Linked DNA regions of Homo sapiens: regions 1, 2, 3, 4, 5 and 7 are each linked to region 6. Evidence: promoter capture Hi-C in 16 types of primary human blood cells and fetal thymus (Javierre and others, 2016). All regions are on one chromosome and are shown on one strand. The core of a region is centred on a gene start or on the middle of the fragment in contact, and the rest is flanking DNA. Distances in the headings are between cores, read along the strand shown.

Region 1 (3,948 bases), core at 624-3,123, 3.2 Mb before region 6:
TTTAAAAGTTCCACAAGTGATTCTGATGGGCAAGCCTAGCTTGAAAACCATGAAAACCACCATATGACCAACCTGTTCTGTATTGATACTAAGAGTAATGCCAAGAGGTGATATGAGAAAGCATATTTTTCTTCCTGATAACTCTCTTTGATGGGTGGTATATATCCTGAGAGTATCTGGTTTCATTTAATTACATTTGGATTTCAGCTATAGTATTTGCAACTCTAATTTTAAACATACGAACTTGGTGTAATAAGTTCTATGGATTTACCTACCTGCTTTGTAAATAGTAGTGTACATTTTGGTTTTTAAGCTTCAGAAGTGCCCCTAACATAGTATTTCAGAATATATGATATGAGAATATGTGATAAGAGCATATGATTCTTGCTTTGTTATTCAGGCTGGTCTTGAACTCCTGGCCTCAAGTGATCGGCCTGCCTTGGCTTCCCAAGGTGCTAGGATTACAGCGTGAGCTGCTATACCTGGCCAAGGATACACAGTTTTAAAATTTGACACTATAGGCCAGGCACGGTGGCTCACACCTGTAATCCCAGCACTTTGGGAGGCTGAGGTGGGTGGATCACCTGAGGTCAGGAGTTTGAGACCAGCCTGTCCGACATGGTGAAACCCCATCTCTACTAAAAATACAAAAATCATCCGGGTGTGGTGGCATGTGCCTGTAATCCCAGCTACTCTGGAGGCTGAGGCAGGAGAATCGGCTCGAACCCTGGAGGCAGAGGTTGCAGTGAGCCGAGATCGCGCCACTGTACTCCAGCCTGGGCGATAGAGCAAGACTCCGTCTTAAAAAAAAAAAAAAAATGACACTCTAGATGCTAAATTAAAGTATAGTTCTTCTTCCCCAGATAATCTGATAGTGGAGGAAGCAGTGCAGGAGCTGAACTCTTTCCTCGCACAGGAGAATATGAGGCTACAGGAATTGACAGATCTTCTTCAGGAAAAGCATCGCACCATGTCTCAGGAGGTACTTAACCAAAAAGGAGAGATGGCTGTGTCTAGTGGGCTGTGGCAGATGTTGACTTACAATTCTGAGCACCTCAAAGATTACCTTACTCTAGAAGGCCTATCATATCATAGGGGATTTTGTAAAACACAACACAACTCCAAACCTCCAAATAATGAATTACCCTAAATATAAAAGACTGTATAGTGTTATTGAGGAATGGCGTGGTAGAAATTCCACAGGGAATGGGGAAGTAGAAACTACTGTATTGATGATGTCCTAGGAATTTGAGGAATGTCAATTTTCAGTCTAAACTTGGGTGCAAATAATGCCATGATTAAACCATGCCAAGATTTGGACATTTATTTATTTACACAAAATGATCAAGATAAAGTGATGATAGGCCTTAAATGACTTTTCTGATACTTCTGATGATCATTTTGATTTAGTTCAAAATATATTCTACTGGAATTTGCCCCACCTTAGTTTGGCCACTGAATTCTTATGCTAATTAGTAATTTAGTAGTTGCCATTTACTTAGTGCCTAGAATTTAAGCACTTTATGAATGTTATCTCTAATGGCAAAACAACTCCCATTTTATTGCCAAAGAAACAAATTCAAAGAGGTTAGTGATTATTCTGAGGGCACATAGCTAGAAAGTGATTGAGCTGTGTTGTGACTGTAGGTCTGTTTGACTTCAAAGCTCTTGTTCTTCATATGCCTTTGTTTACTAAACCCCAGTGTTAAGGTCCATGCTGGCCTGGTTGCATGAATATCATCTGGGGAATTTATTAATTCATATGGATTATCCTGGACCTTCAAAGGGGTTAGAATGTAGTAGCCCTTATAAATAAACTGGAGTCTAGTAAGAAAATAGAATATTTTTATCATGTTTTAAGACATTGACTAGGTGCTACCAAGATGGAGAGGTCTTCCTTTTCTAGCCCTTTGACAAATCTCAGATAGTATTACTAACCTGGAGGGCAGTTGTTTGCTAAACTGTGATGTCCTTGTTGGCTCTCATGGCTGGCTGTTGATGCTGCCTGTCAGCTGGGTTAATTGTCTACTGGGATACCTGCAGTTTGCCTCTCCATCATGGTAGTCTCAGGATGGTTGGAATTTTTACATGTTGGCTGACTTCTTCCAGTGAGCATCCCAAGATCACCAGGTAGAACCTTCATGGCCTTTCTGATATAGCCTCAAAATTGTGTAGTGACATTTCCATTGGGTCTCTAAAGTTGACCCAGATTCAAGAGGAGGGAACAAAGATCCCACCTCTTGTTCAGAGGACTTTCAAAGGATTTTTGTGTCATGTTTTAAAACCTAGCACAAAGGGTATATATAGATTAATGTGAACTTGTAATAGTTTAGTAGTTAAAATACTAAATAGTGTTAGCTGGTGTATAGCTCCTAAATAGAGTATCTGACTTTAGATTATAGTATAATCTATACTGTATTGTATCTGACTCTAGATTGCTCTGGGGTGAGCTTAAAAAAGAGTATGGAAGTTTTCTTTTGTTGTGAATGAATGGATTACCTTTTGTGGGACTGTGGAGAGAAATTTGGGGGTAAAAATGGTTTTTTTGAAAAAATATTTATCTTACAAAACAAAAGATACTATTTATTATCTCTTAAAAAATTACAAAATTTTTATGAGTTTGTGGTCTGTCCAGAGAAATGGTGCTTTTCAGAGGTAGAAAAATTGTTGAATCTTAGGTGGTCTTTTCTTTGTGTGAGAGTTCTTATAGACTTTAGACTTAAAGTTTGCATGATTATAACTGACACAGAATTGTTGGAGGAATCCGTGATTTCATTTTTGTAATCATGCATTGGGAAGAGGGTGAAGCATCTTCTATTTGCCTCTTTTCTATAATTACTCATAAGCAAGGGTTAATATTATGGAATTTGGTCTTTTTTTGCTATATGTTTCTGAATGTTTGTCTTTGGGATGTAGTTCTCCAAGTTGCAGAGTAAAGTGGAGACAGCCGAATCACGAGTGTCTGTCCTGGAGTCCATGATTGATGACCTGCAGTGGGATATTGACAAAATTCGAAAGAGGGAACAGCGACTCAACCGACACTTAGCAGAAGTCCTAGAACGGGTCAGTGCTGTTTTATGGCTTGGAGACTAGAATCATTTTAAGGAGTGTTCTCAGGAAGACTCACCTTGGGGCATGGTATTTGAGGAAAAAATCTCATCCTTTGAAGGTACATTGGTTATAGACTGAAATCTTAAGAGTCTCTCACTAAAGAATCTTTGTGTTCTCTGTAGGTGAATTCCAAAGGTTATAAGGTGTATGGAGCGGGGAGCAGTCTGTATGGCGGCACAATCACTATCAATGCTCGGAAGGTAAAATCAGTGACTCAGGACATGTTTTGGACTGTATGTCAGCTTTCATGCTTAGGTACTTAGGACTGTGTTCACAAGTGACATCATGGGGTTTTGCTGGAATAGCGAATCAGTGAAGAAAGGAAGCTTAGAAATGATTTAAGAAGAATACTTATTTATTCTCTATTTTTCTGCTTCTCTGCAGTTTGAGGAAATGAATGCAGAGCTTGAGGAGAACAAAGAGTTGGCTCAGAACCGTCTCTGTGAGCTGGAGAAACTTCGGCAAGACTTTGAGGAGGTCACTACACAAAATGAAAAGCTGAAGGTAGGAACGCATCCCTGAAGGGCAGTAAAATCAGACGTTCTGCTGATCAACTCACGTATATACATAGTTGTGAATCTGCGTATTCATGAGGGATAAGAAAAATGTAGACAAAATCCAACATCCTTTTATGATAAAACTCTTAACAAATTAGGTGTAAAGAAGTGTACCTCAACATAATAAAGGCCATATAAAACAAGCCCACAGCCAACATTATACCCAATGGCGAAAAGTTGAAAGCTTTTCCTTTAAGATCAGGAACAGGATAAAGATGCTCGCTGTCATTACTTTTGTCCTAGCCAGAGTAATTAGGCAAGGATAAGAAATAAAGGCCTC
Region 2 (3,433 bases), core at 315-2,814, 3.2 Mb before region 6:
ACCTCAAAGCACAACTGGAGTTGGCTCAGAAGAAGCTACATGATTTTCAGGATGAGATCGTGGAGAACAGTGTTACCAAAGAAAAGGACATGTTCAATTTCAAACGAGCCCAGGTAAAAGCAGTTGTCTTTTCTTGTCACCTTTTAGGTGTTTTCTGAGGTCGGAAGTGACCCATATCATGAAAGAATCATTAGTCCAATGTATGTCATTTCCTACTAGACTTGAGGAAGTTTGTTGAGGGAAGAGAGTAAGTCTGTTTTCTTCACTGCCATATCCTCAGACTCTTTTATGGTGCCTTGCACCTAGTAGGCACAAAATAAATATTTGTTAAATTAATGAATTAGTAAATTGTTAAAGAAGTAACAGCATAGCAGCAGTAGAGGATTTTCAAGTTCTTGTATAATGTCTCTATTTTTGTCATGCTAGCTGTTTCTCATGATGTCTTTCTGTCTTTATCCGTAAGTCTCTGAATTATTTTAAACCGTTCTACCTTCAGCTTAAAACTAATTACTATAAAACAAAATAGACTGTCCTCTAAACTCTTAGATGTGTTTTCACAGGACTGAATTGGTAATAGATGCAATTCTAATTTGGGGATATAATTATGGTTGCCTCTTCTGAAACAAAAGAAAATATCCTGCCATTTGCAGTTCTCTACATTTCTACAAGATAATTGACCATAAAAGGATAGAAAGTCCCCTCTTTTCACAACAGAAAACTCAAGTCTATTATTTTTCTCAAAAATGATAGATTTGGGTAAGTGTGTCTAATGGGTATGCTATCCTGCCACAGGAGGACATCTCTAGACTTCGCAGGAAGCTGGAGACCACAAAGAAACCAGACAATGTACCCAAGTGTGATGAGATTCTGATGGAAGAGATTAAGGATTACAAGGTTAGAAAAAATGCCTTAGTGATTAGTTTTTTGTCAAAGCTTTAAGTGGCCTAATAGACTGGGAGAATAATTTGCATGATAGTAACCAGAGAATGGTTTATTTTGGAGGTTGGGGGGAAATGATGCTCTTTTTTTAGTGCCTTGTGGGTTTTCTTCTTGGTTGTGTAGTATATGAGAGCCATTTGGATCATAAACTTTCATGGTTGTTCAAACTCTGACATCTTTTCTTTTTAGGCACGCTTGACCTGTCCGTGCTGTAACATGCGTAAAAAGGATGCTGTTCTTACTAAGTGTTTTCATGTCTTCTGCTTTGAGTGTGTGAAGACACGCTATGACACCCGCCAGCGCAAATGTCCCAAGTGTAATGCTGCTTTTGGTGCCAATGATTTTCATCGCATCTACATTGGTTGATCTAAGTCAAGAGAAGAAGAGGAGCTGGCTAGTCAGGAACTTATTCATTAACCACCAAACCTCTACCTCTTCTCTCCTTGACTGTCACCTGTAGGACAGTTTATCAGTCAACTACCTTTCCTCCAGACTTTACTTCCAGGCTCTCCTCTTCAGTAGCTGGATGACTTTAGCAGAAAGGACTGGTAAATACAAGCCTTGGGTTTCAGAATGAATTAGAAACAAATAACTCTTACTGTCTTCCCTCCCAGCTTTGTTTATTTTGTGCTTTTAGACTTTTCAGTGTTTTCTTTTTCCAGCCCACTGTATAAACTTGGATTGTCCATTCCTCCTGAAGAAATCAAGTTGGTATTTTTGATGTGGAAAAGGGAACAAAAGTGGAAACATGGCTACTTTTGGGGAGTGATATTTTAAAAAATAAGTTGTCTATGGGCACAAAGTTTTCTTCATTTGTGTAGCAAACTTCTTGTGAATGTGGATTACAAAATGGTATAATTGTGCTACTCTCCCCTGGGTGGTTTGCAGCCCTAATGAAATTATGTCTAGGATGATTCAGTCTATTTCCCATTTACTAGCAGAGTAACTTGTTAAGATCAGCTGGCTTTCTTGTTAAAGTTATTTAAGTTTTGAATGCTCTACTACTTCAAGTCTTTAAATTTCTTGAGACTAGAATAATTTTAAATAATATGACCCTTTGTCTTCTAATGAAATAAAGATTGAAGAGGTTGAGTCAGGACTGAGCTGGTGAAGAAATCTTGTGGGTATTCTGGAAATTTGATACGGAGAGAACTTGGTGAGCTATGAATTACTCTCAGTCTCCTTTTTACAGGGTTGTTGTGATCCCTCTTTTCCAGAAAATTCTGTGGAATGTTTCTGTAGGACTTTGTTCTCCACAAGCTTGAATTAAAGCAGGATTCAGTTTGCATTTGTGTTTATGGTTTTTCTTTGAAACTTTTGTCTTTATTATTACAAGTTGATTTTATATCTGCTGTTATAGAATTAAATTTTCTTGCATGGAAATAATCAGCTTAGGTTAAGAGGTTGGCCTTGTTTAGAGTATTTAGATCTTTGCTTAATTGAAGCACTTTTCTCCCAATTCTTTTATTGAGTCTATTCTATGGAGAAATTATACCTAAAAGATTAATTTATTTGACTACTCAGTTATCTTTCATAGTTCATTAGGTGGGGTAAGAGACTATAATTTGTTTTTTGGGGGAGCATATTGCTGCCTCTAGCTTTAGGGTGAGAGTTCTTGCATTATGTGGTGGGTTTTTTTTTTTTTTTTTTGAGATGGAGTTTTGCTCTTGTCGCCCAGGCTGGAGTGCAGTGGCACAATCTTGGCTTACTGCCACCTCCGCCTCCTGGGTCCAAGCAATTCTCCTGCCTCAGCCTCCCGAATAGCTGGGATTACAGGTGCTCACCACCATGTCCAGCTAATTTTTGTATTTTTAGCAGAGATGGGGTTTTACCATGTTGGCCAGGCTGGTCTCAAACTCCTGACTTCAGGTGATCCACCTTCCTTGGCCTCCCAAAGTGTTTTGATTACAGGTGTGAGCCACCATGCCCAGCTGCATTATGTTTTATAATAACCAGCAAACCAGAGGTTTCATAAATCTCTGGCAAGGGGTTGTGTAAAATGGATCCTTCTTGATCACCACCTGTCCTAGAAGACAGGTAAGAGCAAATTCTGTGTCTTTCTGTGGTCACCAGCTATAATCAGCAGGATTTGCACTGAATTCCACAAAGTCATGTGGTATGAATTAAGCAATGAGTCTAATTGAAGAATCTTACTAGGTCATCAAGAGAGGTCATGGGTCCCTTGATCCCCCTGCTCAGCAAACACCCCCACCCCCACAGAACCATCATGACAGGATTAGCTCCTGCTTCTGGACACAGTGAGTTTTCATTTAGTAATAGGACACTTTCCCCTTGCTTCTTGCTCTTCTTATAGGGTAAGCTTGAGCATAACTTTGTTGGTTGGGTGCAGATATACTGCTTGGTCAACAGGTGGTTTGGGCTTGGCTGTTGGCTGTTTGTGACAATTGGCTGAGAAAGCCAGCTGCCCAGCACCAGGGGACCATAGGGCCTGTGGAATGTTGTGGAGGAAACCACTAGCCCCATGGGAAGTTGG
Region 3 (3,578 bases), core at 294-2,793, 3.2 Mb before region 6:
GCCATTCTTGCAGGAGTGAGGTGGTATCACATTGTGGTTTTGATTTGCATTTCCCTGATCATTAGTGATGTGAACACTTTTTCATATGTTTATTGGCCATTTGTATATCTTCTTTTGAGAATTGCCTATTCATGTCCTTGGCCCACTTTTGTTTGGTTTTGTTTTGTTTTGTTTTTAGATGGAGTCTTGCTCTGTCACCCAGGCTGGAGTGCAATGGTGCAATCTCCGCTCACTGCAACCTCCACCTCCTGGGTTCAAGCGATTCTCCTGCCTCAGCCTCCTGAGTAGCTGGGATTACAGGTGCACACTGCCATGCCCAGCTAATTTTTTTGTATGTTAGTCGAGACGGGGTTTCACTGTGTTGCCCAGGCTGGTCTTGAACTCTTGAGCTCAGGCAATCCACCTGCCTCCCCCTCCCAAAGTGCTAGGATTACAGGCATGTGCCACCATTCCTGGCCATGTTTGTTTGTTTCTTACTGATTTGTTTGAGTTCGTTGTAGATTCTGGATATCCTTTGTCAGAAGTACAGATTGTGAAGATTTTCTCCCACTCTGTGGGTGGTCTGCTTACTTTGCTGACTGTTCCTTTTGCTGTGCAAAAGCTCTTTAATTTATTATTTACTATATATATGTATATGTATGTATATATATACATACATATATATATACACACATACATATATATACACACACAGACACACACATATATATATAAAATTATAAGTTTAGGTCCCAGCTATTTATCTTTGTTTTTATTGCATTTGCTTTTGGGTTCTTGGTCATGAAATCCTTCCTTAAGCCAATGTCTAGAAGGGTTTTTCCAATGTTATCTTCTAGAATTTTTATGGTTTCAGGTCTTAGGTTTAAGAGCTTAATCCATCTTGGGTTGATTTTGTATGAGGTGAGAGATGAGGATCCAGTTTCATTCTCCTACATGTGGCTAGCCAATTATCCCAGCACCATTTGTTGAATAGAGTGTCCTTTCCCTGCTTTTATGTTTTGTTTGCTTTGTTGAAGATAAGTTGACTGTATTTGGCTTTATTTCTGGATTCTTTATTCTGTTCCACTGGTCTATGTGCCTATTTTTGTACCAGTGCCGTGCTGTTTTGGTGACTATGGCCTTATAGTTTGAAATCAGGTAGTGTGATGCCTCCAGATTTGTTCTTTTTACTTAGTCTTGCTTTGGCTATACAAGCTCCTTTTTGGTTCCATATGAATTTTAGAATTGTGTTTTTCTAATTCTGTGAAGAATGATGGTGTTATTTTGATAAGGATTGCATTGAATTGTTAGATTGCTTTTGACAGTATGGCCACTTTCACAATATTGATTCTATCCACATGAGCATAGGATGTGTTTCCATTTGTTCATGTCATCTATGATTTCTTTCAGCAGTGTTTTATAATTTTCCTTGTAGAGGTCTTTGGATCCTTGGTTAAGTATATTTCTAAGTATTTTATTTTATTTTTATTTTTGCAGCTATTGTAAAAGTGGTTGAGTCCTTGATGTGATTCTCCACTTGGTCACTGTTGGTGTATAGAAGAGCTACTTATTTGTGTACATTAATGTTGTATCCAGAAACTTTGCTGAATTCCTTTATCAGTTCTAGGAGCTTTCTGGAGAAGTCCTTAGGGTTTTCAAGGTAAATGATCATATCGTCAGCAAACAGTGACAGTTTGACTTCCTCTTTACCGATTTGGATGCCCCTTATTTCTTTCTCGTGTCTGATTTCTCTGGCTAGGACTTCCAGTACTATGTTGAAGAGGAGTGGTGAGAGTGGGCATCCTTGACATTTTCCAGTTCTCAGAGGGAATGCTTTCAACTTTTCCCCATTCAGTATTATGTTGGCTGTGAGTTTGTCACAGACGGCTTTTATTACATTAAGGTATGTCCCTTGTGTGCTGATTTTGCTTAGGGTTTTGGTCATAAAGGGATCCTGGATTTTGTTGAATACTTTTTTTGCATCTATTGAGATGATCATGTGATTTTTGTTTTTAATTCTGTTTATGTTGTGTATCACATTTATTGACTTCTGCATGTTAAACCATCCCTGCATCCCTGGTATGAAACCCATTTGATCATGGTGGATTATCTTTTTGATACGTTGTTGGATTGGGTTAGCTACTATTTTGTGAAGGATTTTAGTGTCTGTATTCATCAAGGATATCAGTCTGTAGTTTTCTTTTTTGGTTGTGTCCTTTCCTAGTTTTGGTATTAGGGTGATGCTGGCTTCATAAAATGAATTAGGGGAGGTTCCTTCTTTATCTTGTGGAATAGTGTCAAAAGGATTGGTGCCAATTCTTTGAATGCCTGGTAGAATTCTGCTGTGAATCCATGTGGTCCTGGACTTTTTTTTGTTGGTGATTTTTATATTACCATTTCAATCTTGCTGCTTGTTATTGGTCTGTTCAGGGTTTCTAATTCTTTCTGATTTAAGCTAGGAGGGCTGTATTTTTCCAGGAATCTACCCATCTTTTCTAGGTTTTCCAGTTTATGTGCATAAAGGTGTTCATAGTAGCCTTGAATGATCTTTTGTATTTCAGTGGTGTCAGTTGTAATATCTCCTGTTTCATTTCTGAGTGAGGTTATTTGGATCTTCTCTTCATTTCTTGGTTATTCTTGCCAATGGTCTATCAATTTTATTTATCTTTCAAAGAACTAGCTTTTTGTTTCATTTATCTTTTGTATTTTTTGTTTGTTTGTTTCAATTTCATTTAGTTCTACTCTGATCTTGGTTATTTCCTTTCTTCTGCTGGGTTTGGGTTTGGTTTGTTCTTGTTTCTTAGTTCCTTGAGGTATGACCTCAGAGTGTCTGTTTGCACTCTTTTGATCTTTTTGATGTAGGTATTTAGGGCTATGAAATTTCCCCTTACCATTGCCTTTGCTGGATCCCAGAGGTTTTGATAGATTGTGTCATTATTGTCCTTCATTTCAAATAATTTTTAAATTTCCATCTTGATTTCATTTTTGACCCAATGCTCATTCAGGGGCAGGTAATTTAATTTCCATGTATTTGCATTGTTTCAAAGGTTCCTTTTGGAGTCGATGTTCAGTTTTATTCCACTGTGGTCCAAGAGAGTGCTTGATATAATTTCAATTTTCTTAAATTTACTGGGGCTCATTTTATGGTCTATCATATAGTCTGTCTTGGAGAAAGTTCCATGCACTGTTGAATAGAATGCATATTCTCCGATTGTTGGATGAAATGTTCTGTATATATCTTTTAAGTCCATTTGTTCCTAGGTATAGTTTAAATCCATTGTTTCTTTGTTGACTTTCTGTCTTGATGACCTGTCTAGTGCTGTCAGTGGAGTATTGAAGTCCCCTACTATTATTATGTTGCTGTGTGTTTCATTTCTTAGGTCTATTAGTAATTGTTTTATAAATTTGGAAGCTCCAGTGTTAGGTGCATATATGTTTAAGATTGTGATATTTTCCTGTTGGACAAGGCCTTTTACCATTATATAATGTCCCTCATTGTTTCTTTTAATTGCTGTTGCTTTAAAGTTTGTTTTGTCTGATATAAGAATAGCTACCCCTGCTCACTTTTGCTTTCCATTTGCAAGAAATGCCTTTTTTCC
Region 4 (3,520 bases), core at 982-3,481, 3.3 Mb before region 6:
TGGGGAAAGAGGGTGTATGTAAATTTGTCATGAAATATATATATATATATATATATATATATATATATATATATATGAGTCAGAGAGAATGGCTCATGGCTCATACATATATTATATATTATATATATATAATGACTCATATATATAATGACACACACATACACATACACACACACACATGAGTCAGATAGAATGGGAAAGATGGCACAGCATTTTCTTCCACCCTTGACCTATGTTGGAGCCTACAACAGAGTGTACTCATGAGAAAGTTTTTGAGATTCTGGATGTAAGCTGTACTGATTGGAAGATCAAGTGACAAAACAAAGCAACAGTTAGAAAGAGGGTCATTGTTTCCACTTTCCCCCAGGACCAAGTACTGACCTGTAAAGTAGATATCACTAGTATTCACCAAAATCTGTTCTTCTCCCTTTTCATATACATGAACCTCTCTGCACTTTTTAGCCCTCTTGCAGTTAAAGTAGAGCCATATTGATTAGTTCCAGCATTTGCAGCCTGAAGCAAAGAGCTAGTGAGTAACCACCATCAAGTTATCAATTTAAACCTGCTTAGTTGACCAGGGAGGCTTCATGGAAAACAGCTGTCCTAAAGGGTTGCCCAGATCTCTGTTAGATTTTGTGTCAGCAAGAAATAAACTTTTATCATGGTAAGCCACTGAGAAGACACTGGGTCTTGCTGCACCAGTCTACCACAGCCTGGAGAACTGATATTTGGGGAAGCATTAAAAAATAGTACCCCTGGCATAGGCACTGGTGGTTTCAAAATAGCTACTATAAGTGGGGGTAAAAGAGAGGCCTTTCCAGTTACTTTGCAAGGCAGTGTGGAGCCAGAACAGGAAAGGAAAGATAAAATCGATGCTCTGTAATGACTGCAGCTAGCAGACTTCTTTGTGCATACATACATGTAAGGTAGCTTTTTGCAGACTCCCAGAAATATTTAGTAGGACTTTTGGGGCTTGAGAAAGAGTGTTATCAACAAAGGAAACTCTGCATTATTTAATCTTAACATGACTGCTTACATCCAAAGACTGGCGACACATGGTGTCTTTAGGTGCTAACTGAGCTGTGGGATCGATTTCATTAGGGAGAGGTCACAATTCTGTTTCTAGTTGGCAGGAATGATTTTAGTTCCTGTCTTCATCCTTATTCCTTTCTTGAAGAGTAAAGGGTCACACATTGCTCAAATCTCTAGAAATTTCAGGATCTCCTGGGATTCATGTCAGACCCCCCTATATCTTTTCTGGGATACTGTGTTTTTTTGGAGAAAATAATTTAATTTCATTATCATGGTTTTTCTTCTTGAAACTGAATACAGACAGGAAAATACTTTCTGATGCAGATGTATTAACATTTGCATGCCAAAAAGAGCTTCAGAAATTTACAGCATGGTTTATACTATACATCAAAATCCATATGACTACTTTCTAAAATTGTGAATTTATTTTCAAAAAAATAAAAAGCTCTTCATGGGCCCCAAATCATCAATTCAAGACAATTCCACAATAGGTTGAAAATAAGCACAAGCTTCCGTTGCTATCTGGTCAATCCCATGTCCAATCTGAATTTGATTATCTGTATTTCCTTGAAAGTAGCAACAATGATCTTATTGTTTCCATGATGTTTCATGTTCAGCTGTTCAGATGTCCTATCGTATGAGAAAGAAAATGCAATCTAATGGGCCGCCAGGAATCTAAGAAGCTATGCCTCTCAAAGCCCTTTGATATCTTCAAACAATTAATCTTGTAGCAGCTAGAATATATTTTCAGTAATGTGCCTAACTTAACTATATGACTATATTAAAATAAATCTCCATGTTACTTCAATTTCTAAATAAAATGGCATGAGCAGAAAGGATATTAAAAATCTTGATCACTTCCCCCAGCAACAGGGCAGTTGCTGTTCACATTTTACCCAAGAGCTATCTATGTGCCTCTTCTTCCTAGCCAACAAAAGCCCCATCTTGTTTAGATGGTGGGTAGGGAGCCAGTGAGATCATAGAAGATGGGCCCCTATCCAAGCCCCAAGAGAATTAATTGCAACTGGGCTTGTTCTGTTTTCCTTTGCCTGTGATTGGTCTAGGAGTGGGCATGTGGCCTATTTCTGGCCCTATGAAGCAAAAGGAGAGGTCTGCTGGGAGACTTCCTGAAACTGCTCTTCCTGGAAGGAGGGAAACAAACAAAACAACAACAAAAGAACTTTACAAGAGAAAGCTTTTTATCCCAGCCCCTTCCTACTCCCATTGAATGCAGCTCTGTGAGGACACGATATTTGAAGCTGCAGTAGCTGAGGTGGCAAAAGATGGCAGAACAGAAGAGCAGACAGAATCTGGGTCCTAGATGACTTCATTGCACTGCTGCAACTGCCTTCTCCAGACCTCTTGCCAGGTGAGAAAATTAAATGTCATCATTGCTTAAGCCCCTGGGAGACTAGATTCTGTTACTTGCCACTGAATGCATCCTAATGCTGTAACTGTCTCTTGCACTGAAACCAACTTGCAAAATTTACAGCACAAACTCTGCCCATGTATGAAGAGAATGTAAAAAAGCATTGCAAACATCTCTTTTGGGAAAATAAATGGATAACACCATTTTTTCTTTTCATTTGAGTTGTCCTATCTTTGGCAAGTGAAAGCTGAAAAGCAGAATTTTCACATATAAATCAAATTTCCCCATTTCCCTCCTGGCAAGGGGTAAGAAACTCTTAGCCCATACATGCTTTCTAATTAGTTAAGAATTGGATTTCAAGCCCTACTCTTATTGTTCGGTTTATTCTGCTTAGTTCATTCAGATAAGAGAATCCTTGAAGGTAAGGTTTAGGGTAGTCAAACAGTTATGAACAATGGTTGTGAATTATGACATATTCCAGCATTTTGGAGCAGCAGCTTAGTCAGCTATCCTCAGAGCCAGTCTGAGGACTCTGACCAATACCAGTGTGGGTTGTCTAAACAAATTAATTTTTAAAAGTAAGGAATGTGTCTTTTCAGGCCTGTGGTTCCCTATGGAAACACTGACAAGAACAGGTGGAAGAAATATGTGGTCTTCGGTTAAAAACTCTTCAGGGTTCAAAGAAGGGCACTCTCACATCATGTGATGGGTGAGCTCTAGTCATTCTGTGAGAGGAACTCCAGGAGACCAGATCCAACTCGCAATCAGCTATAGTGAAGTTATGATATGAGAAGCACCAACTTGGCACAAGACTTGGGAAAGGCAATGAGGCAGCAGGCAAGCTTTAAGGGATGACACTTACCTTGAGGGAGCAAGGACAAGTTGTGACCTTCCCAGTCCTCTCTCCATTTGCAGATCAGCAAGCTTCTGTCAGCAAGGAGGGGTGGACAATGAAACTGGGTTCAGCTTGATTTGTTTTTTGAGACAGGTATGGCAAGGGGCTGCCAACAAGGTAAGTCATCTTTGGACAAGCCAAGTGCTTTGGGAAACAATTGTTTCTGAAAATAAGTGTTTGTGTCAAACATTCTCTTTGTTAGTAGGAGACATTTTTGTTGGATC
Region 5 (3,911 bases), core at 796-3,295, 3.2 Mb before region 6:
ATCATATTAGCATACAATAAGGAAGATCTGTGGAGTTCTCCTAGAAGACCAAATACTTCCCAGGATAAAAGTAGGAAGAACAGGGTTCAACTGTAACCAAACCAATGATAGTAACCTATCTAGAAAAAAAAAAAGTGTTACCAAAGTGAGGAGTTTAGTATGAGGGTATATGAATACATGAATAGGGTAAATGCAGAAGTGACAGCCTCCCTGCTGGGAGGTAATCCATGGTACACTGGAGGGCAGGAGGTGGTCTCACCACAGGAGAGGCCAGGATGGCTCATCCAGCCTTGCTGTGGTCAAGTGAAACCACTCCCTTTGTTAGAGTTCTTCCATCATTATGAAGCCTTCTGACTATATTTTGGGTCTCCATGCCAATTTCATTCAGGGAGAGATATGCAAACGAGTGTGCTTGAGTCACCAGTCTGCTTGACAGTTTCAGTTCTCCCTGTAAATCAGTGCGTTGATGTCTAGGTAACAGGAGAGAACTGCGGCCTTGTGAAGCTTGGCCTTGGCCCCAATGGGTCTCAAACCCCTCTGGACCAGGGAAAAAGCAGAGAGAACAGGGGCAAGTGGGGTCACTTAAAGGGGACCAGGGACTTTAAACTCACGTAATAGGTTTCAATTTTGGCAAGAAAAGAACCTAGGAAATAAATCTTTCACACCATCTTTTCAGACTGTCACTATTAAGTGAAACCTGGTTAAAAAAGTTCTATTTCTTCTATTATGAACAACAGTGGAGGGTTATAGGAAAGGAAGGAGCACTGTGGGATGCCTTAATTTAAGGGAAAAGTGAATTAATGGGATAGAGAGAATTCCTTCTGCTCTAATGAGAGTGCCTACCCCACCCTCGTTATTGTGGTAACATAACTTAGTAGTCTGACATAGGGCTCTGGATCCTCCCATCCCTAGGAATTGTACAGTTTAAGAATATTGGAGCAAGACACCTGTGGCACTCACCTGGCTGGTGTGGAGCCAGTATTGCAGCTTGGATTTGTTTTTGATTCGTGGTAGCAGCAGCCTGTATACTATGTGCTCACCAATGGTGGTCAAAATGGACAGACCAAATCCAATGCACAGCAGCACAAAGAGCCCAGAGAAGTGTTTGATGCCCATTTGCAAAGTCTGTGACAGAATAGGAAAGAAAAGGCCATGAATACAATGATATACCTGGCCCAATGCTTGTGTACTCTTTGGTTTTCAGATGGATATTCATTTTTTCTGGACTCAAGGACAGCTGGAGACTATTTCTCCCTGTGTGTTCTGTGACCTTCATTATACATCATGAAAGAAATTCAGCCAGGGTTGGACTGAGGGCTGCCGAGGAGCACCCAATGCCTAGAGGGTGAGAAATAAAAATAAAATTAAAAGCTCTCCAACCGACTGAACGAACTTTCTCTTGTCCATGGGGACCCCGAAGAAACCTTAAAAACTGAGTTCCTGGCCTTGATTGGATGGGAGGTCTGTCATGCCTCAGTTGTCCCTTCCTTATTAACCTTTAGCCATAATTCATTCTTAAGAAGTAAGCAAAAGCTAGCTCTGGAAAACAAGAAACCGATAACTCATTGCTTTATCACCTTTAGCTAATCATCTAAGGCCATAACCAGATTCTCCCTCCCTCTTTGCAGTTTCAGTGTGACAGCTCACCAGTTTCCCAATGCACCCTTCCTAAAAAATGACCACAATCTCCAGATGGTTTTGGCCAACTTGTGGGGGATGCATAGTGAGGGTTTTCATGTCCTCTGCTTCACATTTGGACATCAGAAGACCAAAATCTCCACCCTCGGGTCATGCTAACACCACCATTTTTTGAACATGGGCCCAGGAAGAGGCATGAAGCTCAACTGCACATGTGCATGTATCTCTTTTCATAAATATTTATGACTCCTCCTATAGCTTACTCAATACGTATACTCAGCCACCCCACTCAGCATAAATTCCTGTTCCCTTTTACCCCTCCCTTGAAGTGCTTGCTCTCAGCTTCTGCTGAGGCTATGCTTCCCATTCTGCAGGATGGCTGGCCTGCTGGCTGCAACCCTTTATGAGAACTAAAGATCTCCTGGCCAAATTTATGAAGCTCATGATTCTTCAGTTGACAGGCGCTATTCGTATGTTAATCCACTGTGCAAATGGCCCCTGGAGTTGTGCCAAGGCCCTGGGTCTGGACCACCTTATGGTCTCTTAGAGATTGAGAGAGATAGAGATAGAGAATTGAAACAATTTAATATACCTGGTAGCTGTCAAGGAAAGAACGTCCCTCAGGGAAGAGAATGAGTAGATTTAAGGGGAAAAAGATGGTGAGTTCAGTAACTTTGGAATTTGGATCTGGTAGGGAACATGGAAATCATCTAGTTCATTTACAGAGGAGGAAAGTGAGACCAGAGAAGTGTAGTAAACCGAGCCAAGCCACAAAAAAGGCATAGAAGAGAAAGAGAAGGAACTTAATGATATTTATTGGTTGCTTACTTTCTGCCAAGTGTTTTACATTAAAATAGATATATAACGTCTATTTTATAACTAAGGAAAGTGGAGTTACTGCAACTTTTAAGTGGCAAAGTTGGTCTTTCAGTCCATTTCTGTTCAGCTCCAAAGCCTGGGCTCTTTCTGCTCTACTGCTATATACCAAAACAGCAGCAGTTATAGCAACAATAGTAGTTACAATAAATATCTGTGGCCAGCACTTTGCTAAGTGATTTGTGTAGATTAAGAAAACCCTCACATGTACTCTAAAACAGCCATTATTTAGCCATTGACATCAATGACAAGAGTCAATCCCGTAGAAGTAAAAATACATAATATATTGAGTTAATACTAGGTGCCAGGCACTCTTCTGCGTATCATGGGATAGAGATAGAAGGAAGTTATATCTTTCCTTTTAAACAGCTTGAGTCTAGGGAGAAAACAAACATATACCTCCATGATACATTTGATCCATGCTTCCTGGGATTTGTGGGGAAGCTGGTTCATGAGATAACATTTGAATAAGACAGGCAGGATGGGGAGGTTGGGTGGGGAAAGTGAACATACTAACCTGAGGGTAGCATAAACAAAGGAAAAAAGACATGACTTTCCTGGACAGTGGTATAGTGTTGTGAAACTGACTGCTGTGGCTGAAGGAAAAGTATACAAGGCATGAATAGTGCCATAGTTTGAATGTATATGTCCCTCTCAAACTCATATGTTTAAACCTAAACTCCAAGGGTTGGTATTAAGAGCCCTTATGAAGGGATGAGTGCCCTTATAAAAGGGCTTGAGGAAGCTAGCTAGTCCCTTTTGTTGCCCTTCCAGCCTTTCACCATGGGAGGACACATCATTTGTCCCCTGTGGAGGACAAGCAACAAGATGCCATCTTGGAAGCAGAGACTGGGCCCTTACTAAGACAATAAACTTGGTGGTGCTTTGATCTTGAACTTCCAGCCTCCAGAACTGTGGGGAATACACTTCTCTTCTTTATAAAGTACCCAGTCTCGGGTATTTTGTTATAATGGCACACATGGACAAAGATATGCAGTGAGAGAGAAACAGGGCCACACTAGGCAAATCCTCAGATGCCGTACTAAGGAGCCTGGGTGTTATCCCTTTGCTGGAAGCTTTTGGTCATCATTATCATTTATAATTATTTAGCATTGAATATGTGTAAGGCACAATTCTGAGCACTTTATCAATGTAGCAACTTGCCTTATCTTTATGACAATTTATAAGGTAAATACTGGTATAATCTCCATTTTATAAGTGAAGAAACTGAGCAACAAAGAAGTTCAATAACTTGTCCAAGGTCACATAGCTCGTGAAGGTTAGAGCTGGGATTCAAACCCATGCCGTCTGTTTTCAGAGCCCACAGTCTTCACTGACTCATTTGTCTGATGTGAATGATCCTCCCATTCTCTTTAAAGGTTTTCCTTTCATTCTCC
Region 6 (3,922 bases), core at 159-2,658:
GAGTGGTATGAAGAAACCTAAATCCTAAATATCCAAGTCAATAGCTAGAATCCTGACCACTTTTAGAATTCCACTAGCACCTTTATTCGTATCTTACTTTATTTTTCTTTATATTATTTGACAATCCCTGATATATTTACTCTTCCTTTTTTTATCTGTTTCCTCCATCCTGGATGTTCCAAGAGGACGGGACTTTGAATTTTGCTCAATTCTGTACCCCAGTTTCTGGAAAAGTGCCTGGAACATGGAAGGAATTTAGTAAATATCTGTTGAATAAGTAAATGGATTGGCAATTACAGGGTTTAAAAAAAAAGGTCTAAGAAAATAATTTACTCATATAGATCCAGTCCTGATACAAATGATTTTTTTAGTCTTGCATGGTTACAAATAGATGTCTCTCTTCTAGAAAAACTGAGGCAACCCTTCCGAAATAACTAATTTTAAAAAGTCTCCCTTCCTTTGAACAGACAATTCCAAAGCTCTTCCACAAGGCACAACCAATACAACCCAGGTCATGGCCCTGCAATCCCTCCCTAGTCCTCATGATGTAAGCAATATTACATTAATGTTTACAATAATGTAATTATTAGCAAGAATAATGTAAACATTAATATAGATTACTGTAAATTAATAGTGTAATTAATTACTGTAAATTAACATAAGCATTATTAGATGCAGGAAGACAAGTGAATTTGGGGGCAGTGGCATCTATGAGACATAAATCCTCATCTGCCACAGAAGGAAGTCAACACATACTATCCATAACTGAAAATGCAATAAACAGCAGAAAACACTACTTACTTAAAAATACAGAAACAAGCATTAAATGAAACAGCTTGAAATGTTGAAGGTGGTTACTCTGGGAACCAACACTCCCGGACTGGGAGGACTAGACCAGGGTATGTTTAACTTTGACTTTTTCATTTCAGGCTCGATGCTGCCATTTCTCTGAGCTCGTGGAAAATTTAATCTAAATCTTAATTAGGAGCCTTCTAAGATGGAGAACACATTCATTGCAGAGAGGTCAGGCTCAAATACACGTCTATCACAACATCTAAAACTTAACTCGGAAAAAACCTCCACGATTTTAAATACAAAGCACTGCACATGCACGCACTCAACACCTCTCCTTCTTTCCCCATGGTCAACACACCCACAACCCCTGCACATTTACCAATCTACACAACTGAGCACTGGAGCGAATGAGGTGAGTGAGGGCCCAGAAAGTTGAAGCAGGAACGATCCGAGCCTTCAGTTAATCCTAACGTCACCTCTAACGTTTGGGGTAAGAACGTTTCAGGAAACCAAGGGGGAACCAACGCTCAGCACAGCAGAGAAAGACACCAAGCTACGGGACCCGCCGCGCCTCCCGCGCCGGGGTGGAGCTGACCCCGCCGAGCCCCGCCCCAGCCTGCGTCTGCCAATGATCCAGGAGCCGCTCCTTTCCACTCGGGAAACCTTCAGAGGAGTCTCAGAAAGGACACGGCTGGCTGCTTTTCTCAGCGCCGAAGCCGCGCCATGCTCGTCCTCAGAAGCGCCCTGACTCGGGCGCTGGCCTCACGGACGCTGGCGCCTCAGGTACCGGCCACGGGGGTACCCAAGCCTTCACCCGACGGGAGGGGAGGGGCGGGGCGGGGAGTGTTCCGGGTACGTGCGAGCAATGCGCATGCGCTCTCCGCCACGCGCGCCCAGACCTGGGGCCCCGGTGAGGTTCTAGCGTGAGCCCCGGAACCCCAAGACAGGGGTACCCGGAACGCGCGTGAGGAGGAGGCCGCTGCTAGGGGAATACCCCCAGCCGGGGTCGTCTCGCGGGCAGTGGTGGTCAGAAGGCTTTTCTAGCCTGGATGCCACACCCACCGGGACACTCCCATGGCGCCGGCTGTTTCGTTTTTGCTGCCCAGCTATGTCGCGGCTGCGGCCCAGCGAGCGCTCCCATGTTGTCACCTGGCGCTGTGGAGCCGCGGGTGGAGTCGTAGCTTTCCAAGCCACCGCCCTCTCTAGACATCAGGTTGAAGGAGGGAATTGTCAACCAGCCGCTTGCCACGGAACCGGCCTCCCCCTTTTAAATGAAGCACACAACTTCCGAGCATTTCGCGGAGACCCTTGAAGAGGAGGCCCAGGGTCCCGGTGGGGCTGGACCCTGCCCGCCACCCGCGCTTCGTGTGGTCGCTCCCCCAACCAGGCGGGACCGGAGCCTCCTATCAAACCGGACGATGACAGACAGACTCTTTTAACCTTAGATGAGAAATGGACAAAATGGAGCTTGTGATTCTGCCCTAACTTTCGGGAGTGGCCTATTCTGTGGCTTCAACCTAGAAATTTCTTTTCCTTTTGATGTTTAGGACTTTACTCCTTTCTGAAGGGGCAGGATGGGAAGGGGATTAACCTGTCCTAGAGACAGACTGAGGAGCACTAAAGAAGAGCAGCTCATGTCCATTCACCCCGGGTTAACAATGCAGTTTTTACCCTAATGATTCTCCAGTGGGGCAGGGCCAGGAATGACGTCCTTATGGCATGATTCCAAACTTTAAGTTTTTAGAAATGTCCATCAGTTGTTCTCTTTTAAGTGAAGTGGAGGTCGTTGCTGGTGGGAATGATCCCTAACTTGGAGATAAGGGAGGATGGACGACTCATGATTTCTGCCCTAGCAGCTAAAAGTCATCCCTGCAACAAAATTCTTAACTCCCATCCGGCTCCCCCACCATACCCGGCTCCCCTGCAGTCTTCCTTCTCTGGCACCACCTGTCCACATCTCTCTCCCTCTCTCACTGTAGGTTCCCTACTGTATATTAATACTGCCCAAAATTGTAAAAATGTGTACCTTTGATCAACTATTTTATCCTCCAAATACAAATTCCTCGAATCAACCTGAAATCCATTTGTCACAAATGCCCCATTGGCCTATCTCCTGATATATTTTATTATAATAATTTTGAAATTATGGATACTAGGCACTTGCTTCTTGACCAACATTGTTACTAGAGTTTGGTTTAAAAGCACAAAAAGAGTGTCCACAAAAGGCAGGGGCAGCTGCAGCTGTTTTTGTTGGTAGGCTTAGTCATTTGAGCAATAAGAATATAAGTCACACACGAATAGAATTAACTCTAGATAATTATCATTAAGCCTTATCATACACAGTTACATAATTTTGTATTTTGTAAACAAAAATATGTCGGAGCAAAAGCCTACTGCTTTCAGACAGACATACTGGCTAGTCAGTATAAGCCCTAATTTGTCCATAGCTTTGTAGGTATCAAAACTGTCTTCACAGATTATTCTGGTGTAATCAACTTAAGGAAATGGCACATGCTATTCAAACTTAAGTAAGATGGATTTATAAGAATATCACGAATGCCTGTGTGTATACCATGAGTGCATATATATATGTGTGTGTGCGTATGTGTGTGTGTATGTGTATACATATATACACATAGATACCTACATAGAGGATAATCTTAGGCGAGGTATTTCTTACAGAAAGTTCAACCAGAACACAAATTAGAAATTTACAGTGCGTGTATGACTATTACAAAAGGAATTAATGGTTCTTAAGTGATATTTTCATCAATGTGGTATAAGTGGATTCATTAAATGTTGTTCACATTGCATCTGTAATTAGAAACTAATAAGAAAATTTTGACTCTGAATTTTCTTTTCTCAGCATTCATGTTCTACCATTATATTACAATGCAATTGGATAGGTCAGAGCTTTTTATTGCATTAGTTACATTCCAGTCCTAATTTTGGTCAGTGGTTTACTTCATTGAATTAGGAAATACTTTGACCTGAACTGTAATTTCCATTTTTTTCAAGAACCTAAAAGAGTTTTCTTCTAGTAAACATTTTTTTCATTATGCCTGCCAAAAGTTACGTGCGTAGTTAATAAAGTTCTTTGATGTGCATAACTGTAACACGTATGCTC
Region 7 (3,717 bases), core at 278-2,777, 3.3 Mb before region 6:
GTGTTGCACAGTGCAGTATTAGACCTCTAAGGTTATAGAAAACTAAGGAAGTTTTTTAGTTTGTTGCGGAGAAGTATGATATGGTTATCAATAAAACTTCCAAGCCTAAAAATATATTACATTTACATAAAGTTCTGTGAGGGATATGGAACCGAATAATGTAAATGTTCTGAACTTTAACATGTAATTTTCTTTAATGGGTATTTAATCATTATCTTGTTTAAGATTCCATGATTTGTACTTAAAAGGGTCACCAATGTTAAAACATACTGGATATGACATCCTTTGGAATTATTTACATTTATAATAGAACATAGATACTCATTTACAATGCGAAAGTGTATATGGTCTCTCAAAATTATTTTTGAGAAGAATGCAGGTTTTTTTGTTTTTGTTTTGTTTTGGTTTTTTTTTTTTTTAGAGATGGGGGCTTGCTATGTTGCTCAGGTTGGAGTACAGTGGCTGTTCACAAACACAGTCATTGTGCACTACAGCCCCAAACTCCTGTGAGTGACCCTCTTGCATCAGGCTCTGGAGTAGCTAGGACTACAGGCTCAGGCCACCACTCCCAGCTTGAAGACTGCCGTCTTAAGGGTACTTAATAATTTTTTTTCAGTGGCTATATATATTTTAAATGTTTTATCTGTCAAAAAGAAAAAAAAAGAACAGATGTTGAGTATTATCAAAGTCTTTGGGGCCATTACAAATAATTTTTTTGTTTTTCACTGCTAATATGAAGATTTTGATATCATTAATTACTTTATATCATTTGTATCCTTGGAATATTACTTGATTATAAACCAAGGTCCCATGGAATTCAGTCCTGCCATGAACACATGCAAAGTCATGTAATCAAAGTAATGAAAAAATAATTTAAAAGCATATTTGTGTTTCTCAAGGGACGTTAACAAAGATCAGATTCATAAACAGAGTAACACTTCTTTATACCCACTTTTCTTTGATTTTTCACTCCATAAATACTCCAGAGTCTCTCACTATCTCACGCCCTCCCTTTCGTCTCTTCCAAAGGTCACCCAGATAAGTCTTTAGAACAGATTATTTTCGGTACTCCTTCCCTGTGCCACATCACATCTCTTTTCCACAGGAAATTGAAGCCAACACTAGTATTTCTGCTCACAAGCTGCACCAGGGCTCCTGAAAACAGCTGGAGGACATGGAAACTCTATGCCTCCATTTGTCTGTAATTCTTTACAGAGAGAACTTAAGACCCTCTAAGAAATGTAGTTGTTGTCTCACTCTGGCTGCTTTTCTCAAAAAATCCTCTTGGAAAATTCCTTAAGAATAAAACCATCTATCTTTTTGCTGGACTGAAATTTCCTTGGCCAAGCTGTATTATCATCTCTATATATCATATACATGAGATGATATATATATGTACATAGATATACACACACACACACACACAGATATGTTTTGGCTGTGTCCCCCCCCAAATCTCCTCTTGAATTCCCACAAGTGGGAAGGACCTGATGGGAGATAATTGAATCATGGGGGCAGGTCTTTCCCATGCTGCTCTCATAGTGCAAATAAGTCTCATGATATCTGATGGTTATCTAAGGGGCAGTTTTCCTGCACAAGCTCTCTGTTTGCCTTCTGCCATCCATGTAAGATGTGACTTGCTCCTCCTTGCCTTCTGCCATGATTGTGAGGCGTCTCCAGCCACGTGGAACTGTAAGTCCATTAAACCGCTTTCTTGTATAAATTACCCAGTCTCGGGTATGTCTTTATCAGCAGTGTGAAAATGAACTAATACAGTAAATTGATACCAGTAGAGTGGGGCGCTGCTGAAAACATACCTGAAAATGTGGAAATGACTTTGGAACTGGGTAACAGGCAGAGATTGGAACACTTTGGAGGGCGCAGAAAAGACAAGAAAATGTGGGAAAGTGTGGAACTCCCTAGAGACTTGTCGAATGGCTTTGACAAAAATGCTGGTAATGATATGGACAATGAAATCCAGGCTAAGGTGGTCTCAGATGGACATGAAGAACTTTTTGAGAACTGGAGCAAAGGTGACTCTTGTTATGTTTTAGCAAAGTGACTAGCAGCATTTTTCCCCTGCCCTAGAGATTCATGGAACTTTGAACTTGAGAGAGATGATTTAGGGTATCTGGCAGAAGAAATTTATAAGCAGCAAAGCATGCAAGAGGTGACTAGGGTAATGTTAAAGGCATTCGGTTTTAAAAGGGAAACAGGGCATAGAGGTTCAGAAAATTTGCAGCCTGATAATGTGATAGAAAAGAAAATCCCATTTTCTGAGGAGAAATTCAAGCCAGCTGCAGAAATTTGCATAAGTAACAAGGAGCCAAATGTTAATCACCAAGACAAAGGGGAAATGTCTCAAGGGCATGTCAGAGGTCTTCACGGCAGCCCCTCCCATCACAGGTCGGGAGGCCTAGGAAGAAAAGTTGGTTTCATTGGCTGGGTCCAGGTCCCCCCTGCCCTGTGCAGCCTAGGGACTTGGTACCCTGCATTCTAGCCACTCCATCCATGGCTAAAAGGGGACAATGTACAGCTTGGGCTGTTGCCTCAGACTTTGGAAGCCACAAGCCTTGGCAGTTTCCATGTGGTGTTGAGCCTGCAGGTGCATAGAAGTGAAGAATTGGGGTTTGGGAACCTCTGCCTAGATTTCAAAAGATGTATAGAAATGCCTGGATGCCCAGGCAGAAGTTTGTGGCAGGGGTGGGGCCCTCATGGAGAACCTCTGCTAGGGCAGTGCAGAAGGGAAATGTGGGGTCAGAGTCCCCATACAGAGTCCCTACTGGACAGCTCAAGTGGAGCTGTGAGAAAGGGCCACCATCCTCCAGACCCCATAATGGTAGATCCACTGACAGCTTGCACAGTGCGCCTGGAAAAACTGCAGACATTCAACATCAGCCAATGAAGGCAGCCAGGAGGGAGGCTGTACCCTGCAAAGCTACAGGGGCAGAGTTGCCCAAGACCATGGGAACTCATCTCTTACATTAGTTTGACCCAGATGTGAGACATGAAGTCAAAGGAGATCATTTTGGAGCTTTAAGATTTGACTGACCTGCTGGATTTCGGACTTGCATGGGGCCTGTAGCCCCAATGTTTTGGCCAGTTTGGAATGGCTGTATGTACCCAATGCCTGTATCCCCATTGTATCTAGGAAGTAACTAACTTGCTTTTGATTTTACAGGCTCATAGGCAGAAGAGATTTGCCTTGTTTCAGATGAGACTTTGAACTATGGACTTTTGAGTTAATGCTGAAGTGAGTTAAGACTTTGGAGGACTGTTGGGAAGGCATGATTGGTTTTGAAATGTGAGGACATGAGACTTGGGAGGGGTCAGGGTGGAATGATATGGTTTGGCTGCATCCCCACCCAAATCTCATCTTGAATTTCCATGTGTTGTGGGAGGGACCTGTTAGGAGGTAATTGAATCATGGGGGCAAGTCTTTCGCATGCTGTTCTTGTGACAGTGAATAAGTCTCACAAGATCTGATAGTTTAAAAAGGGGAATTTCTCTGCACAAGTTCTTTCTTCTCTTGTCTGCTGCCATGTGAGACATCCTTTTACCTTCTGCCATAATTGTGAGGCCTCCCCAGCCATGTAGAAATATAAGTCCAATAAACCTCTTTCTTCTGTAAATTGCCCAGTTTGGGGTATGTCTTTATCAGCAGTGTGAAAATGGACTAATACACACACACACACTCACACACACATATATACACAC

What was found. The method cuts DNA at HindIII sites, captures the fragments that hold promoters and counts their contacts. A CHiCAGO score of 5 or more calls a contact.
Region 1: a fragment that was not itself captured here is called in contact with the fragment with the promoter of NIPSNAP3A in region 6 in 14 of 17 cell types (total CD4 T cells, activated CD4 T cells, naive CD8 T cells and 11 more); the score reaches 34.4 in total CD4 T cells.
Region 2: a contact is called between a fragment that was not itself captured here and the fragment with the promoter of NIPSNAP3A in region 6, in 11 of 17 cell types (total CD4 T cells, non-activated CD4 T cells, total CD8 T cells and 8 more). The highest score is 21.0, in total CD4 T cells.
Region 3: a contact is called between a fragment that was not itself captured here and the fragment with the promoter of NIPSNAP3A in region 6, in 2 of 17 cell types (naive CD8 T cells and total CD8 T cells). The highest score is 6.8, in naive CD8 T cells.
Region 4: the fragment with the promoter of TMEM246-AS1 here is called in contact with the fragment with the promoter of NIPSNAP3A in region 6 in 5 of 17 cell types (total CD4 T cells, M0 macrophages, naive CD4 T cells and 2 more); the score reaches 8.8 in total CD4 T cells.
Region 5: a fragment that was not itself captured here is called in contact with the fragment with the promoter of NIPSNAP3A in region 6 in 12 of 17 cell types (M0 macrophages, monocytes, M2 macrophages and 9 more); the score reaches 27.7 in M0 macrophages.
Region 7: a contact is called between a fragment that was not itself captured here and the fragment with the promoter of NIPSNAP3A in region 6, in 4 of 17 cell types (non-activated CD4 T cells, total B cells, naive CD8 T cells and 1 more). The highest score is 8.7, in non-activated CD4 T cells.

The regions. Positions count from the first base shown.
Region 1 is chr9:101,543,904-101,547,851 of GRCh38, forward strand. It overlaps RNF20 (ring finger protein 20), which reads left to right. Exons shown (of 20, transcript NM_019592.7): 6 at 864-982; 7 at 2,917-3,063; 8 at 3,234-3,311; 9 at 3,496-3,615. Among named protein-coding and RNA genes, the nearest start is that of RNF20, 12 kb to the left of the region's middle. The HindIII fragment of the contact is 3,124 bases long and covers 312-3,435 here.
Region 2 is chr9:101,561,118-101,564,550 of GRCh38, forward strand. It overlaps RNF20 (ring finger protein 20), which reads left to right. Exons shown (of 20, transcript NM_019592.7): 18 at 1-113; 19 at 793-894; 20 at 1,129-2,227. The coding sequence ends at 1,305. Among named protein-coding and RNA genes, the nearest start is that of RNF20, 29 kb to the left of the region's middle. The HindIII fragment of the contact is 1,266 bases long and covers 932-2,197 here.
Region 3 is chr9:101,519,001-101,522,578 of GRCh38, forward strand. It overlaps a transcript of PGAP4 not described here. Among named protein-coding and RNA genes, the nearest start is that of RNF20, 13 kb to the right of the region's middle. The HindIII fragment of the contact is 5,520 bases long and covers 1-3,578 here.
Region 4 is chr9:101,466,208-101,469,727 of GRCh38, forward strand. It overlaps TMEM246-AS1 (TMEM246 antisense RNA 1), which reads left to right and starts at 2,232. Exons shown (of 3, transcript NR_121576.1): 1 at 2,232-2,401. The HindIII fragment of the contact is 1,016 bases long and covers 2,226-3,241 here.
Region 5 is chr9:101,578,236-101,582,146 of GRCh38, forward strand. GRIN3A (glutamate ionotropic receptor NMDA type subunit 3A) reads right to left here. Exons shown (of 9, transcript NM_133445.3): 7 at 961-1,125. Among named protein-coding and RNA genes, the nearest start is that of PPP3R2, 15 kb to the right of the region's middle. The HindIII fragment of the contact is 3,086 bases long and covers 503-3,588 here.
Region 6 is chr9:104,746,275-104,750,196 of GRCh38, forward strand. NIPSNAP3A (nipsnap homolog 3A) reads left to right here and starts at 1,409. Exons shown (of 6, transcript NM_015469.3): 1 at 1,409-1,578. The coding sequence starts at 1,519. LOC107987105 (a long non-coding RNA gene) reads right to left here and starts at 1,365. Exons shown (of 5, transcript XR_007061705.1): 1 at 1,175-1,365. RefSeq lists a silencer at 1,303-1,392 and an enhancer at 1,813-1,972. The HindIII fragment of the contact is 7,745 bases long and covers 1-3,922 here.
Region 7 is chr9:101,450,103-101,453,819 of GRCh38, forward strand. All of the region lies in intron 2 of LOC105376184 (a long non-coding RNA gene), which reads left to right. Among named protein-coding and RNA genes, the nearest start is that of ALDOB, 16 kb to the left of the region's middle. The HindIII fragment of the contact is 6,251 bases long and covers 1-3,717 here.